Linked DNA regions of Homo sapiens: regions 2 and 3 are each linked to region 1. Evidence: promoter capture Hi-C in 16 types of primary human blood cells and fetal thymus (Javierre and others, 2016). All regions are on one chromosome and are shown on one strand. The core of a region is centred on a gene start or on the middle of the fragment in contact, and the rest is flanking DNA. Distances in the headings are between cores, read along the strand shown. Region 1 holds the start of ST3GAL6-AS1 (ST3GAL6 antisense RNA 1). Region 2 overlaps CPOX (coproporphyrinogen oxidase). Region 3 overlaps CLDND1 (claudin domain containing 1).

Evidence for each region. The method cuts DNA at HindIII sites, captures the fragments that hold promoters and counts their contacts. A CHiCAGO score of 5 or more calls a contact.
Region 2: a fragment that was not itself captured here is called in contact with the fragment with the promoter of ST3GAL6-AS1 in region 1 in 1 of 17 cell types (neutrophils); the score reaches 5.9 in neutrophils.
Region 3: a contact is called between a fragment that was not itself captured here and the fragment with the promoter of ST3GAL6-AS1 in region 1, in 1 of 17 cell types (neutrophils). The highest score is 8.2, in neutrophils.

The regions. Positions count from the first base shown.
Region 1 is chr3:98,731,401-98,735,715 of GRCh38, reverse strand. ST3GAL6-AS1 (ST3GAL6 antisense RNA 1) reads left to right here and starts at 3,065. Exons shown (of 5, transcript NR_046683.1): 1 at 3,065-3,290. It also overlaps a transcript of ST3GAL6 not described here. RefSeq lists enhancers at 2,103-2,850, 2,851-3,599. The HindIII fragment of the contact is 17,493 bases long and covers 1-4,315 here.
Region 2 is chr3:98,574,828-98,579,566 of GRCh38, reverse strand. CPOX (coproporphyrinogen oxidase) reads left to right here. Exons shown (of 7, transcript NM_000097.7): 7 at 1-121. Among named protein-coding and RNA genes, the nearest start is that of CPOX, 16 kb to the left of the region's middle. The HindIII fragment of the contact is 1,823 bases long and covers 917-2,739 here.
Region 3 is chr3:98,516,373-98,520,969 of GRCh38, reverse strand. CLDND1 (claudin domain containing 1) reads left to right here. Exons shown (of 5, transcript NM_001040181.2): 3 at 1,975-2,085; 4 at 3,781-3,918; 5 at 4,091-4,597. The coding sequence ends at 4,311. Among named protein-coding and RNA genes, the nearest start is that of CLDND1-AS1, 3.9 kb to the left of the region's middle. The HindIII fragment of the contact is 4,507 bases long and covers 1-3,876 here.

The sequences.
Region 1 (4,315 bases), core at 1,816-4,315:
TGTGTGATGTGTGCTATTATCCATCACAGTTGGGACAGACAGGAGAGAATGTTTCATTTCAACTGTGAGGGTGGGGATGTAACCCTGGGAAAACCTCTTCCAGGTAACATATAGCTTGAGTAGGAGCTTCAGTGAAAATGTATTCAGAAAGGAAAGAACTTTTGGAATATGCCCATTGAAGACAGCATAAACTCCTAGATTTCGCCAGACCCTGATCACCTAAGTGACACATCAGAGATGTGCAGAAGATAGAAGGTTCCTGGCTGGTGAAAGTCTAAAGCTGTCACAAGGAAGGCAAAGTACGCAGACCACCTATTCAAAAAGCCCAGCCTGGGGATAACTAGAAAGGCATATTCAGACCAAGGTATATATAAATGGAGGATATGCCAGGCAAAGGAGAAAGATATGCACAGGAAATGGAAGAATTTGTGCAGAATGTATACTGCAGAGGATTCCTGGGATGGTGTAGGCAGAGGTAGAGTCAAACCTTTATGTGAGCCACTGCAACTCAACCTAAGGCAATCTTGGTTTTTTAAGCTATAAAATGGGGCTAAAAATTCCTTTCTTGCAGGAGTTTTGTCAGGAAGATTAAATAAAATAGCATATGAGAACACACCAAAAATCAGAGTGGGTGCCAAATAGGAGTTCCATGCTTCCTTCACCTTCTCAATAAGCATCACCTAAAATGCATACTAAACAGATCTCTGGTCACCACTCCTGGATGGAAGCACAATTTCCATGGAAGCCATCTGGCAGTCTGCATGGTTAGCAGATGATGCTTATCAGGGAAATGCGGGAAACATGGCATTACTCACGTCTTCTCCCATAAGGTTCCACATGATGTGGAACACAGAAATGTCTCCAACAGAAGAAAACTGCTGTGAAATCCAGTCGTCTGCCACTGAATGAGAACACCTACGATTTACAATTTCACAGGAGACAGACTAATGTTTTTAAATGGTATGTCTCTTAATGGTATTATTCTGTCAATACTGTCTATTCTTGAGCCTCAAAGGTTTTTTATTATTATTATTGATATAGGGCATAAGAACAAACTATCTCCAACAAATCTACTGAAATGTAGTCAAAATTGCAGTCCCATTTTACTGCACCATGTAAACAACATATGGTGCAATCTGGGACTGAGACATTGTGGAACTATAGTAAAAATACAATTCAAGGAAAGCGACATCACAAGGAATGAAGATCTCCCCTCCCAGTCTACATGACCACAAGAACAGCTTAGGAAACCAGACCAATGCAACACTTTCTAGAAAAATTATCTTCTTATAAGCAAAGTTGCCATTATCCAAAGACCCTCTGTGGAATTTGGCCTTACTCAGAGACAATAAACTAAATAACAGTCTAAGGGCATCGTTTTTCGCAGATCTTGGTATGAAAAGCGTTCTTAGTGAAACAAAAAGGAAGCAACATAAACCAACTTGCAAATGTCAAATCGGCATGCTTTCAAACGGAAAATAACCTGGCAGCCTGAGCAGATGTTCCCAAATATTTAACATCTCCCTGTAAATAAAAAGACAGTTTTATGGTCTGCAGCTAGGTGAGGAAGATTGAGGACCGGAAAGTCAAACATTCGGGCTAGCCTAAAAGAGGTGGCCGCTGGAGACCCGAAGAGTTACGAGGTTCAAAGGTCAGCGTGGACACGAGACCACAGACCACGAGGAGCTTTCAGCAGATCTACAGTTTCCTTAACTATCCACCTACTCACAGCACCCAGCTGGTCCTCGTAAGGCAAATGGGACTTACGACTTTAGACTCGGTGTGATTTCTGATACACTAGCAGTCACCACGTTATTTTCATCCCTACCCCCACACACTGTTTTTAAACATTACCTTTCAACAGCAACCTCTTCTCCCCCTCCTGCTCCTCCCCACTGTCCCCGCCAACCCTCGCTACTGAAAAATCCTAAAAGAAGGTGCTTTGGGTTTGTTTTTGGTTTCTGGGCGTCGCTTTTTATAGGTTTTCTTTTAAGCCAAAATAACAGCACACAAGAAAGAGGCTTGAGATTGCCGGGATCTCCGGAGCCGGCGGCCTCAAAATGACAAGTTGCTTCTCCCTTATCTTGAAAATTAACAGCAGCCCAAACACTGCAATTTACTCACCGTCCTCCTTTCTCCTAAACTGCCTCGGAGCTTGTTTTGTTAGGTCTAGTTCCATTGTGGAGGGAAAAAGGGTTTCTCGAAAAACTTTATACGGTAAGAGACCAGAACCTTCCAGACCCCTCAACCCTCCTCGCGTACAGACCCTTTTACAAGAAAACAATAGTGAACGAGGAGCTGGACACTCCTCTTGGCTTCCCAATTGCACAACCTCGCCGGCGATTCGACAAAAGAGGGTCCCAGAGCAGATTCTCTCGGCCCCCACGGCTCCTGGGCTTACCCGCGAGGCTGCGCGTCCCTCCCGCCCTTCACTGGGGCTCCAGGATCCCCGGGTGCCCTCTCGGCGGTGGCTGCGGCGCACGCCGGCTGGCTCGCGGGTCCCAGCGCCCATGGTCCCTTTACGCCTCCGCACGCCACCTCCTTGGTGCTGGCAGGATATGTGGAGGGGCAAACAGCGCTCCGTGTCCCCACCCCCAACCCTGAGCCTCAGAGGCTGCAAAGCCGGAGGGTCGGGGCAGCACAGACCCCAGGCCGCCCGGACCCCGGCCCAGACCGGTCTTCCCGCACCCCCAATTTCCCTCACCCGGGCAGTGCAAACCCGCAGCGAAGCCGGCCGGCAAGAGTGACCCGCCGAGGCCCAGGAGCGACGACCGCAGAGGCGCACCGGGCTCCGAGACCTGAGGGGCCGCTGCTCCAGCCGGCTGCTGCCTCTCTCGCGGCGCCTGCCACATCGGGCCGCAGAAGCCCGAGGCCGGCAGAAACCAAAGGAAGGTGGCGCGGGCCAGGGGCGGCGCGGGCACGATTCCTTCCCCGCGGATCTGGCGGGGGAGCAGAGGAGGGAGCAGCCCTGCCCGGAGTCTCAGGCTCCCGCCAGCCCCAATCCCGGGCGACTGCGCCGAGCGCCTCCGGAGTCGCGGGAAGCTCCTCCTGCTCCGCGGCTGGCGCCAGTTGCACGGTGGCCGCCCCCAAATTCGAGGAGGAAGGTGCAAAGTGGTGGGAGGCTGCGGGTCTCCCGGAGGGTGAGGCGTTGGGGACCAGGCGGGAGCACAGCCGAACCCCTACCTTTCGGGCGGGGCGGACACCAGCCGCGCGCCCTCGCCGGGCGCCGGGACCGGAAAATCACCGCGAAGGGAGGGACGAGGAAAGGCGGCGGGTGGCTTCAGGACAAGGTAGGAGGATCGATTTCCACAGCCAAGAAGACACTCCCATCCCGCCCTGGTTTGTTTGGAAAGCTGCAGGAGCTAAAGTGAGGGGTGGCCGGGTACTCCCCTTCCCCGCCCGGCTGGCAGGCGGCAGAAGTAAACACTGAGGCTTGTGGCGCCGCGGACTGACTGTGACACAAGGCTCAGCAGAAGGTTTGGTCCCTATCAGAAGGGGAGGAGTGTTCAGAGAGCTCCTGAATTCCGGGGCTCTGCCCTTCAAGGGCAAATGTGTTCGTACTTTTTATCTTTTGAAGGAGATAAATTACTTTAGGGAGAACGAAGGTGGAACGTGCTGTTTGCGTTTTCTTTTCTCTCCATAGGCAAAACCCTACGTTATTAATGTCCTCTTACTTGGATGGCTCTGAATACTTTTTAAAGTGTGTTTGTCAAATAATTCCTTGTCTAGAAACATTCAAGTCATAGCTCCAACCTTTGGGCCCTGAGCAGTGTAATCACGTGCCATCAATTGACCCCAGAGAGAAGACCCACGGACTTGGATGTAATTCAAAGTTGGCAATGTGTCACGAACTGGAACAAAGTCCTTCATCTGTGATGGGCTTTCTGGTATTTGTCCTTTTTTTTTTTTTTTTTTTTGAGACAGAATCTTGCTTTGTCACCCAGGCTGGGGTACAGGGGCATGATCTTGGCTCACTGCAACCTCTGCCTCCCAGGCTCAAGCGACTCTCCTGCCTCAGCCTCCCGAGTAGCTGGGATTACAGGCTGGGATTACCACTCCCAGCTAATTTTTGTATTTTTAGTAGAGATGAGGTTTCATTATGTTGGCCAGGCTGGTTTCGAACTCCTGACCTCAAATGATCCGCTCGCCTCCACCTGCCAAAGTGCTCTGGTATTTGTCTTAATTGTAATAACAGCCCTAGGAGGTATCATTTGTTGTTTTCCCAACCTTACTTTAAAAAAAAAATGGCCGGGCGCCGTGGCTCACACCTGTAATCCCAGCACTTTCGAAGGCCGAGGCGGGCGGATCACGAGGT
Region 2 (4,739 bases), core at 579-3,078, 150 kb after region 1:
ATCGTGGAACACGTTGAATGTTTGTGATTCTGTGTGGCCTTTTTGGGGCTGGAAAATGTATGAATTCTTCAACTGTCTTACAAGAGATCTGCTAATAAATTTTATTATTAAATAAGACTAAGAAATATTTATATTTTTTGTTGCCAGGATAATATAGGAAAACGCATATATTTCTTAGTACAGTTGATCCTTGAACAACATTAGGGCTAGGGGCCCCAACTCCTCCTTACTGCATGCAGTTTCAAATCCTTGTATAACTTTTGACTCTCCCAAAACTTAATCACTAATAGCCTCCTGTTGACTGGTAGCCTGACCAATAACATAGTCAATTCGCACATGTTTTATGTTATATGTATTATATACTCTTCTTACAAGCTAAAGAAATGAAAATGTTATTAAGGAAATCGTAAGAAAGAAGATATATTTGCTATTCATTAGGTGGAAGTGAATCATCGTAAAGGTCTTCATCCTCATTGTTTTCATGTTGGGTAGGCTTAGTGGGAGTAGTAAGAGGAAGAGTAGGTCTTGCTCTCTCAAGGGTGGCAGAGGTGGAAGAAAATCTGCGAAGAAGCAAAACTCTTCAAACCTGTGTTGTTCAAGGCTCAGCTATGCTAATGCCATAGTTCCTCATTCCTAGGTATTTTACTCAAGAAAAATACAAGTTTTGTACTCAATTTTCATAGCAGCTTTATTCAATAGTTGAAAATTAGAAACAACCCAAATGGCTAACAGCAGGTGAGCAGATAAACAACTTGTGATATATGCGTATATTAAAATACTAAGCAATGAAAAGGAATAACTATTGCTAATGACAGTAACATGGGTGAACATCAGAAACATTATGCCAAGTGAAAGCCACACATAAAAGTACTTACTATATGACTACATTATAGGAAAACCTAGAAAAAGCAAAGCTTTAATGACAGAAAGCAGATCAATGGATGGCAGGGGTTAGGGGATGCAGATTTGTGAAAGGGGACAAAAGAGTATTTTGAGGTGATTTAAATGTTTTACATCTTGATTGTGATGGTTACTAGACTGTATATACATTTATCAAAATTCACTGAACTTAAAATGGAATTTTATTGTATATGTGAATAATACTTCAATAAATCTAATACTAGGAAAAATATAGGCATATAGGAACAAATGTTCAGATCAACCTCAGTTTAGCTTTTAAAAAATAGAAAATCACTACATAGTGATGATATAATGCTAAAATGCTAGCCTATTTAGTTGTGTTTAAAGCTGTGGCGGGTAAATGAAGATAAAATTTTTCTGTGCATTTGTTTTCAGTTCTTCAATAACCACGTATTTCTACTATGGATTAGACTATGTCTGAAAAGAATTGCATAACTACTGGAAAACAGATTATCCTACTGTTATTCAAAGTGAATTTCTCTTTCAATTTCTTACTGGTGTTAATTCAGTCTACCTGAAGACCACAGTGCACCTCCAGATGGCCTGAACACCTAACTGTCTTATGCATGCAGGTTCATGGTAATAAAGGGTGTCTGGAGGGGAGAAATGTCAATTCTCTGGAGCAAATTTTTAACCACTATTTTCTGTTCATCACTGTACTCTGCTGACCCTCCTAGTCAGCAGAGTATTTGAGATAAGTGCTTCTGCACGCTAAGGAGTACAAGATTTGAAAAGCCAAATGTTTCTTTATGACTTATCCTTCCATGTGTCTTTTGCTGTTACAATATTTAGAGACAGGAATCTTCTGCAGGTTTTTGACTTGCATGTCTGTACATAGGTGAGGATGACTCAAAGGCTCAGCTCATCTTGGACTGCAGGCTGCATTGCCTATGGGTGGCTCAGAGCACGAATTCCATGGAAAAAGGCAAAGGCAGTATGGTGGTTTTCTGTTCTAACCACTGAGGTTATGTAGTGTCACTTTCTTCACATTCCACTGGACTCCTGACAAGTCTGTCATTAAGGACAGTTCCAGATTCGAGTGGTAGGGAATTAGATCCCAGTCATCTTCAAAACCTCCACACAGCCTTCCACACTCAAAACCACGAAATAGATTGGACTCAACCCTCCACATTGCCCTAATTAGTTCCTGTTGAGTCCCCCTTTGAAATGGCTCCTGGTTTCCTTCCTCTGCCCTTTGCCACCACCCTACTTTAGTCTCACATACTTTCTCATCTGAACTTTTGCAATGCTCTCCCTGCCTCTGGGCACTCTGACCTTTCCCTCTCTTCAGAATTATTTTCCTAGGTCCCATTATCACCACCCTGCTGAAATAGTCAAAGAATCTCCTCTCCAGACAGAATTCTAAAGTCAGTCTGACATTCAAGCAATCCACCATTTAACTCCTACCTCGTGTTTCAGGCTTATCTTCTACATTTCTCTGTGCACTTCAGTCTCAGACCATATACTCACCACTCACCACTTTTCCTGAACTTCCCCCAAATTATATCCCCTCTGGCCTTTTCTCAGGCTGCTGCTATCTCTGCTTGGAATGTCTTATGTGCCCGCTCATCCTTCCATGCCCATTTTAAATCTTCTTCAAGAAACCTTCCTTGGAGTCAATCTCTTCTACCCTTTCAACACATTTTACTTTTAGTATTGCTGTCAACATATTCCATTTACAGTCATTCAATCCACATCCCACTTATTACAAAATATTGAAGGTGGATCTTTCCTTATTTATAGTACCTGCTACCTAATGAATGATGTGTTAACCTTTGTTTTCCAACACTGTTTTGCAATATATCGTAGTATCAAGCTTAGTGTTGTTTAGTTGTCTGTATAACTGTCTTATTCCTAGTCTGTGAAAACAGAAGTTCCCAGTATCTCTAAAAGCCCATTTAGAAATTGTTTTCAAGGATGTATTGTATTATCCCTGCCACAAGTATGAATTATGTATTTGAAATCTCACATTTTAAAATTTCATCTTTCTTCCCAAAGAAACACATAACAATCCAATTTCATAATAAACCTAAATTAGCACATTTAAGTTAGTGACGCTTAGACATTTGTAAATGGCTTGACTAAATTCCCTTGTATTGTTACCTGAAATCAAGTCATAAGTTGTACAACATAAAACCTCACTGATATGGTTAGGGTTTGTGTCCCCACCCAAATCTCACCTGGAATTGTAATCCCCCAAATCCCCAGGTGTCAAGGGAGAGACCAGGTGGAGGTAATTGAGTCATGAGGGTAAACCATCCCCGTGCTGTTCTCGTGGTAGTGAGTGAGTTCTCACAGGATCTGATAATTTTATAAGGTGCTCTTCCCTTCTTTGCTCAGCACTTCTCCTTCCTGCTGCCTTGTGAAGAAGGTGCCTTGCTTCCCTTTTGCCTTCTGCCATGATTGTAAGTTTCCTGAGGCCTCCCAGCCATGCTGAACTATGAGTCAATTAAACCTCTTTCCTTTATAAATTATTCAGTCTCGGGCAGTTCTTTATAGCAGTATGAAAACAGAATAATGCACTCACAGACCTGTTTCTACAAGTTGCTTTTTTTTTTTTTTTTTTTTTTTTTGAGGCAGAGTTTCACTCTTGTTGCCCAGGCTGGAGTGCAATGGTGCGATCCTGGCTCACCACAACCTCTGCCTCCTGGGTTCAAGCCATTCTCTTGCCTCAGCCTCCCGAGTAGCTGGGATTACAGGCATGTGCCAGCACGCCCGGCTAATTTTTTTGTATTTATTTAGTAGAGACAAGGTTTCACCATGTTGGCCAGGCTGGTCTTGAAATCCTGACCTCAGGTGGTCCACCTGCCTCGGCCTCCCAAAGTGCTGGGATTACAGGCATGAGCCAGCACACCCGGCTAATTTTTTGTATTTTTTTAGTAGAGACAAGGTTTCACCATGTTGGCCAGGCTGGTCTTGAAATCCTGACCTCAGGTGATCCACCCACCTCAGCCTCCCAAAGTGCTGGGATTACAGGCATGAGCCAGCACACCCGGCTAATTTTTTGTATTTTTTTAGTAGAGACAAGGTTTCACTATGTTGGCCAGGCTGGTCTTGAAATCCTGCCTCAGGTAATCCACCTGCCTCGGCCTCCCAAAGTGCTGGGATTACAGGCATGAGCCACGGTGCCCGGCCTACAAGTGGTTTTATACTGGATATTCACTAACATATACCAGCAGAGCAAGGTAGTTGAACTGCATTTCCTCTTCCGATCAGTGTAGCCAGCTCTATTCTAGATCTTAAGCTCATTCAAACAGTATTTTCAATAATTCTTTTACTGTTAATCCCTTCATATTTCAAAATGCGTTTGAACATAAAACTTGTCATAATCCAAGCCATCATGGTTTCAATAGGTTGATGCAAATACAGCCACTTAGGAAAGTAAATTGACTTTGCAGTCATTTAGAGTTGCAACACTGACTCTGTCATGGATGTGTTTTCTTATGAGATGGTTGAGAGGTATCAAAGTTCACAAAGCTGTACTGGCTGAATGCCTCTTATGTAATAGCAAGTGAATAATGCTTTCATAAATAAAAGTCTTTATAGCAATTTATCTATGCTCAGATCGGTTCAAGATTGCTTCCATTTTCTGACTTGATGAGGGAGACAGGCTTTTAGAATCTGTTCCACACCTGCTGCTTGACATTCTTCTAACCATTAGTATAATATACAAATCCACAATTTCTTGTAGTTCAAACTGTAGTTTATTAAAAATAACTAGTTCAGATGTCCTCAAAGACCATTTAAATTAATACTACCTGAATACAGGCTGGGCACGGTGGTTCATGCCTCTAATCCCAGCACTTTGGGAGGCCGAG
Region 3 (4,597 bases), core at 374-2,873, 210 kb after region 1:
TTGCATTACCATGGTACTCATCAATATTGGTTGGATGAGGAACTTTTCTTATCTTGGGAAAGCCTTAATGGCTTTTTTTTTTCTTATTTACTCACTCATTAAAATACTTTTCATTACTCTAACACATGTTATAAAGAAATAGTTGGAAAAGTACATCGAAAGACTTTTAAAAATATTTGGTAACTAGTAAAAGGACTACCATCGAAAATCAACTCAAAAAATTGTCCTTTTATGGGTTAGCTGTATTATAATACATATCTATCATTTGCCCCTGTGTCTTAGAGGATATAATTTGACCAGCTCTACATTTAATCTGTGTAATTATGAGACTGTTTTACAACAATCTTGATGCAGAGTTGGTAGGTTAAGAAATTTGTATTACAGAAGTTAAAAAAAAAAAACCAAAAACTAGATTTTTAGGTTTATTTTACAGGCATTCTTATTTAACACTTAAAGATTTTGATTTCCAGTTATTAAAATGGTAGCTTTAGAACTCTTTGTAAGGAACAACTTTACAGTTTATTTATGACTACTTCTGTTGGCCCCTTAGTGGGGAAGCATTGTATTCAAATCATAGCAGAACAGGCTTGAGTTATGATATATCAAAAGGATGATAATATGTCACTGTATCTGGAAAAAAAGATAATTTGGAAGGAAAGGAGAGAAAGTTGGTTAAAATTCATTGTAAAATGTTCAGTTTGACTTATGAGGTTACAGGAGCACTTGATATTGAAATTGGAGTTGGAATTGGAGTGTTACCATTTAGTCATTCATTAAACAAATAATTTATTGCATGTCTCCATGTTCCAGGGCCTCTTAGCTGGGAGAACATCAGGAAAGAACAAAATCCTTACTCCTGGGGAGCTAGCATTCTAATAAAGGATGACAGGCAGTGAACAGAATATAACAGTATAAACAGAATAAATAATTATTCAGTATGTTAAAAGATGACATGTGCTATGGCAAAATAGAACACAAAAGGGATTTGGAAATATGTGGGAAAAGGAATATTGGTGGCCATAGGTTATGATTTTCAATAGGATACTTAAAGTAGGTCTCATTGAGAAGACACCACTTGAGTAAAGAATGTAGTTAAAGACTAGACAAAAGAGTTGGCCATATGGGTAAATGGGGAGGAAGTCATTTAGGTTGGAAAGGACATCTACTGCAAAGGCTCTATGGCGGGAGCATGCCTGAAATATTCAAGGACCAGTAAGGAAGCCACTGGGCTGGAATGGAGGGAGAGACGGGAAGTTGGGTATGCTGTTAAAGACCTACTTTGGGAGTGGGACTGGGGCAAATCCTGGAGGACTCTAGGCAGAATGAGAACTTTGGTGTTGACTCCAGATACAGTGCTGAGCCCTGATCTGGTCACCCTGGCTGTTGTGAGAACAGAGGCAGCAGACAAAGGTGGAAACTAGAAGACTATGGTTAGGAGGTTATAGAAGTAATTCAGGTTAAGTGATGATTATGACTCACACCAGAATGGTAGCACTGAGCAGCAGCTGGATTCTGGACATAGTTTGAAGGAAGAATTCCTGGGATTTCCTGATGGAGTGTAAATGTACAAGAATTACTCTAAAGTTTCTGGTCTGAGGAACTGGAAGTGTGGATTTGGCATTCCCTGAGATGGGAATATGGTTGATAAAGCACGGTTGCATGAGAAGATCAACATTCCTATTTATTTCAGTCTTTGTTCCCTCCCCTTCTTCCTAGGCTTTCTACATAGCTATTCTGCCATTCATTTTACTGCTTCCACTTTATTTTTCTTCCTTGTGCCTATGTCTTCAGCCTGCCACTGAGAACCAGTGGCATCCATTGGACATCTATGAAACCTGTGTGTCAGTCAGGGCCAGAGAAGTTGCTGACCCCTCTGGAAACATCCTTTACTGTTTTACTTCAGAGAATAATTACTGAAAGAGATTTTTGTTAAATGTTTATAATTAAAACAACAGGCAATTGTTCTTGTTCCAGAGTCATTTGATGTGGTCACAAAATGTGTGAGTTTCACACTAACTGAGCAGTTCATGGAGAAATTTGTTGATCCCGGAAACCACAATAGCGGGATTGATCTCCTTAGGACCTGTGAGTACTTTGATTTCACCAGGACAGTTGGGGGAACAAAGATAATTTTATTTGTCTCTTTTTGGACTATGTTTTTGGAATAAGATGAGTTAGTAGATTGTGCCAACGTGAAATAAAATCTCTAACAGTATCCAGTGAACTCTATTCTGTTGATATTTTAGAAGGTAGATACATGCTTACCAAATTTCAAATGATTTGAAGTTGACAGGGCCAACTACTTCATTGGATGATGGGATCTAGACCTTCAAAAGATGTTATTAATGGGCCCATTTAGTAAAAGGAAATTTAGTTGAGATAACTTATACATTCCTATATTTGAATTAAACACTTTCCACTGCTTGAGTTCAGGTAAGTATATGTGAAAAAAGTTTACTGCAAGCTCTAAATGAGTCAGTGAGTTGTCAGGCCTGTCAAAAGTGTTTATCCAGTCTTAGGTGATAGTAACAAAAGGGTAGATGTCAAAAAAGATGAAAGTATTTATTAGGAACAACCTATTCCCTGATGGTCAGGCAGCCCATGAAATACTGTCTTCAGATTTGAGCCTCAGTTTTCAGGGCTATAGGGACTTGCCCAGAAGAATGACCATGTTGTAAGAGAAAAGGTTGAATAAGAGGTAGGTATTCAGTTTTATAAAGAGAATGTGTAGCAAGCAGTTTATTACTAGGAGAGTTTGAAAGAAAGTAAGTTAGAAAAACACATAAGAAGTTCCAGAAAGCAAAACCAGCACCAAAAGGTGTAAAGTTTAGTCAAGATTGATATGAATGCATTTCTAATAATGAATATTATTGGAAAATGGAATGGCATGTTTTGTGAGGTCATCAGGTTTTCTTCCCATGTTGATGAGAGATTTATGATAATTAAAACTACCTTTAGATTCTCTGCTTTGTGCTTTATATATATTCTTCAACAGCCCTATAAGACAGGTCATTTATAATTACCATTAATTTACTTGTTGTTACTGCCTTTAGATCATATAAAGACCTAGATATTGTTGGTAGGTAGAGTCAGACTGATTTTTGTATCAAATCCTGGCTCTACCACTTACTGTGTTATTTTTACAAGTTATTTATGACTCTTGCCTCAGTTTCCTTAATTACAAAATGGAATTAATAATAATACAGCTGTAGCTATGGGGGATTGGATTCAGGACCCCCTGCTAATTCCAAGGTTGCTAAAGTACCTTATATAAAATGGCATAATATTAGCATATAACCTACACAATCCTCCTGTATACTTTAAATCATCTTTAGATTGCTTATAATACCCAATACAATATAAATGCTATGTAAATAGTTGTTATACTATATATTTGTAAATTTGTATCATTTTTTTTTCTGAATATTTTTAACCCTTGGTTAGTTGAATCTGCGGATGTGAAACCTGCAGATATGGAGGGCTGACTGTACCTACTTTCTAGGGTTGTTGGGAGGATTAATACAGAAAATGTGTAGACAAACATAGCATGGAACATAGTGAACCCTCAGTAATTGCTACTACCTGTTAGTGTCCTTTTACTTTTATCAGGACAAGAGTAGCATCCTTTTGAATAATGTGCTTTAGAAAAGAGGCCTCAATGTTAAAATACTTTCACACTTTTTGAGAAAAGATCTAATTAGAATATGAAAGAAATTGCCATTGCGGGGAAAATGGTCTGAAATCACGGTAACATTTCTTTTCTCTCTTTTTAAAAATCAGATCTTTGGCGTTGCCAGTTCCTTTTACCTTTTGTGAGTTTAGGTTTGATGTGCTTTGGGGCTTTGATCGGACTTTGTGCTTGCATTTGCCGAAGCTTATATCCCACCATTGCCACGGGCATTCTCCATCTCCTTGCAGGTAGGTTTTGTCATCATACTTACCTTTTAGCTTCTTCCTGTCTCTTTAGGGACCAAAGAGTTATAAATCTGAAATGTTCACGTATTAACTGCCCTGTCACATTGCCTGAAAAGCTCTTTACTGTGCTTTTATCCAGCCATGTTTTGTTTTGTTTTCTAAATTTTCCCCCAAGGTCTGTGTACACTGGGCTCAGTAAGTTGTTATGTTGCTGGAATTGAACTACTCCACCAGAAACTAGAGCTCCCTGACAATGTATCCGGTGAATTTGGATGGTCCTTCTGCCTGGCTTGTGTCTCTGCTCCCTTACAGTTCATGGCTTCTGCTCTCTTCATCTGGGCTGCTCACACCAACCGGAAAGAGTACACCTTAATGAAGGCATATCGTGTGGCATGAGCAAGAAACTGCCTGCTTTACAATTGCCATTTTTATTTTTTTAAAATAATACTGATATTTTCCCCACCTCTCAATTGTTTTTAATTTTTATTTGTGGATATACCATTTTATTATGAAAATCTATTTTATTTATACACATTCACCACTAAATACACACTTAATACCACTAAAATTTATGTGGTTTACTTTAAGCGATGCCATCTTTCAAATAAACTAATCTAGGTCTAGACAGAAAGAAATGGATAGAGACTTGACACAAATTTATGAAAGAAAATTGGGAGTAGGA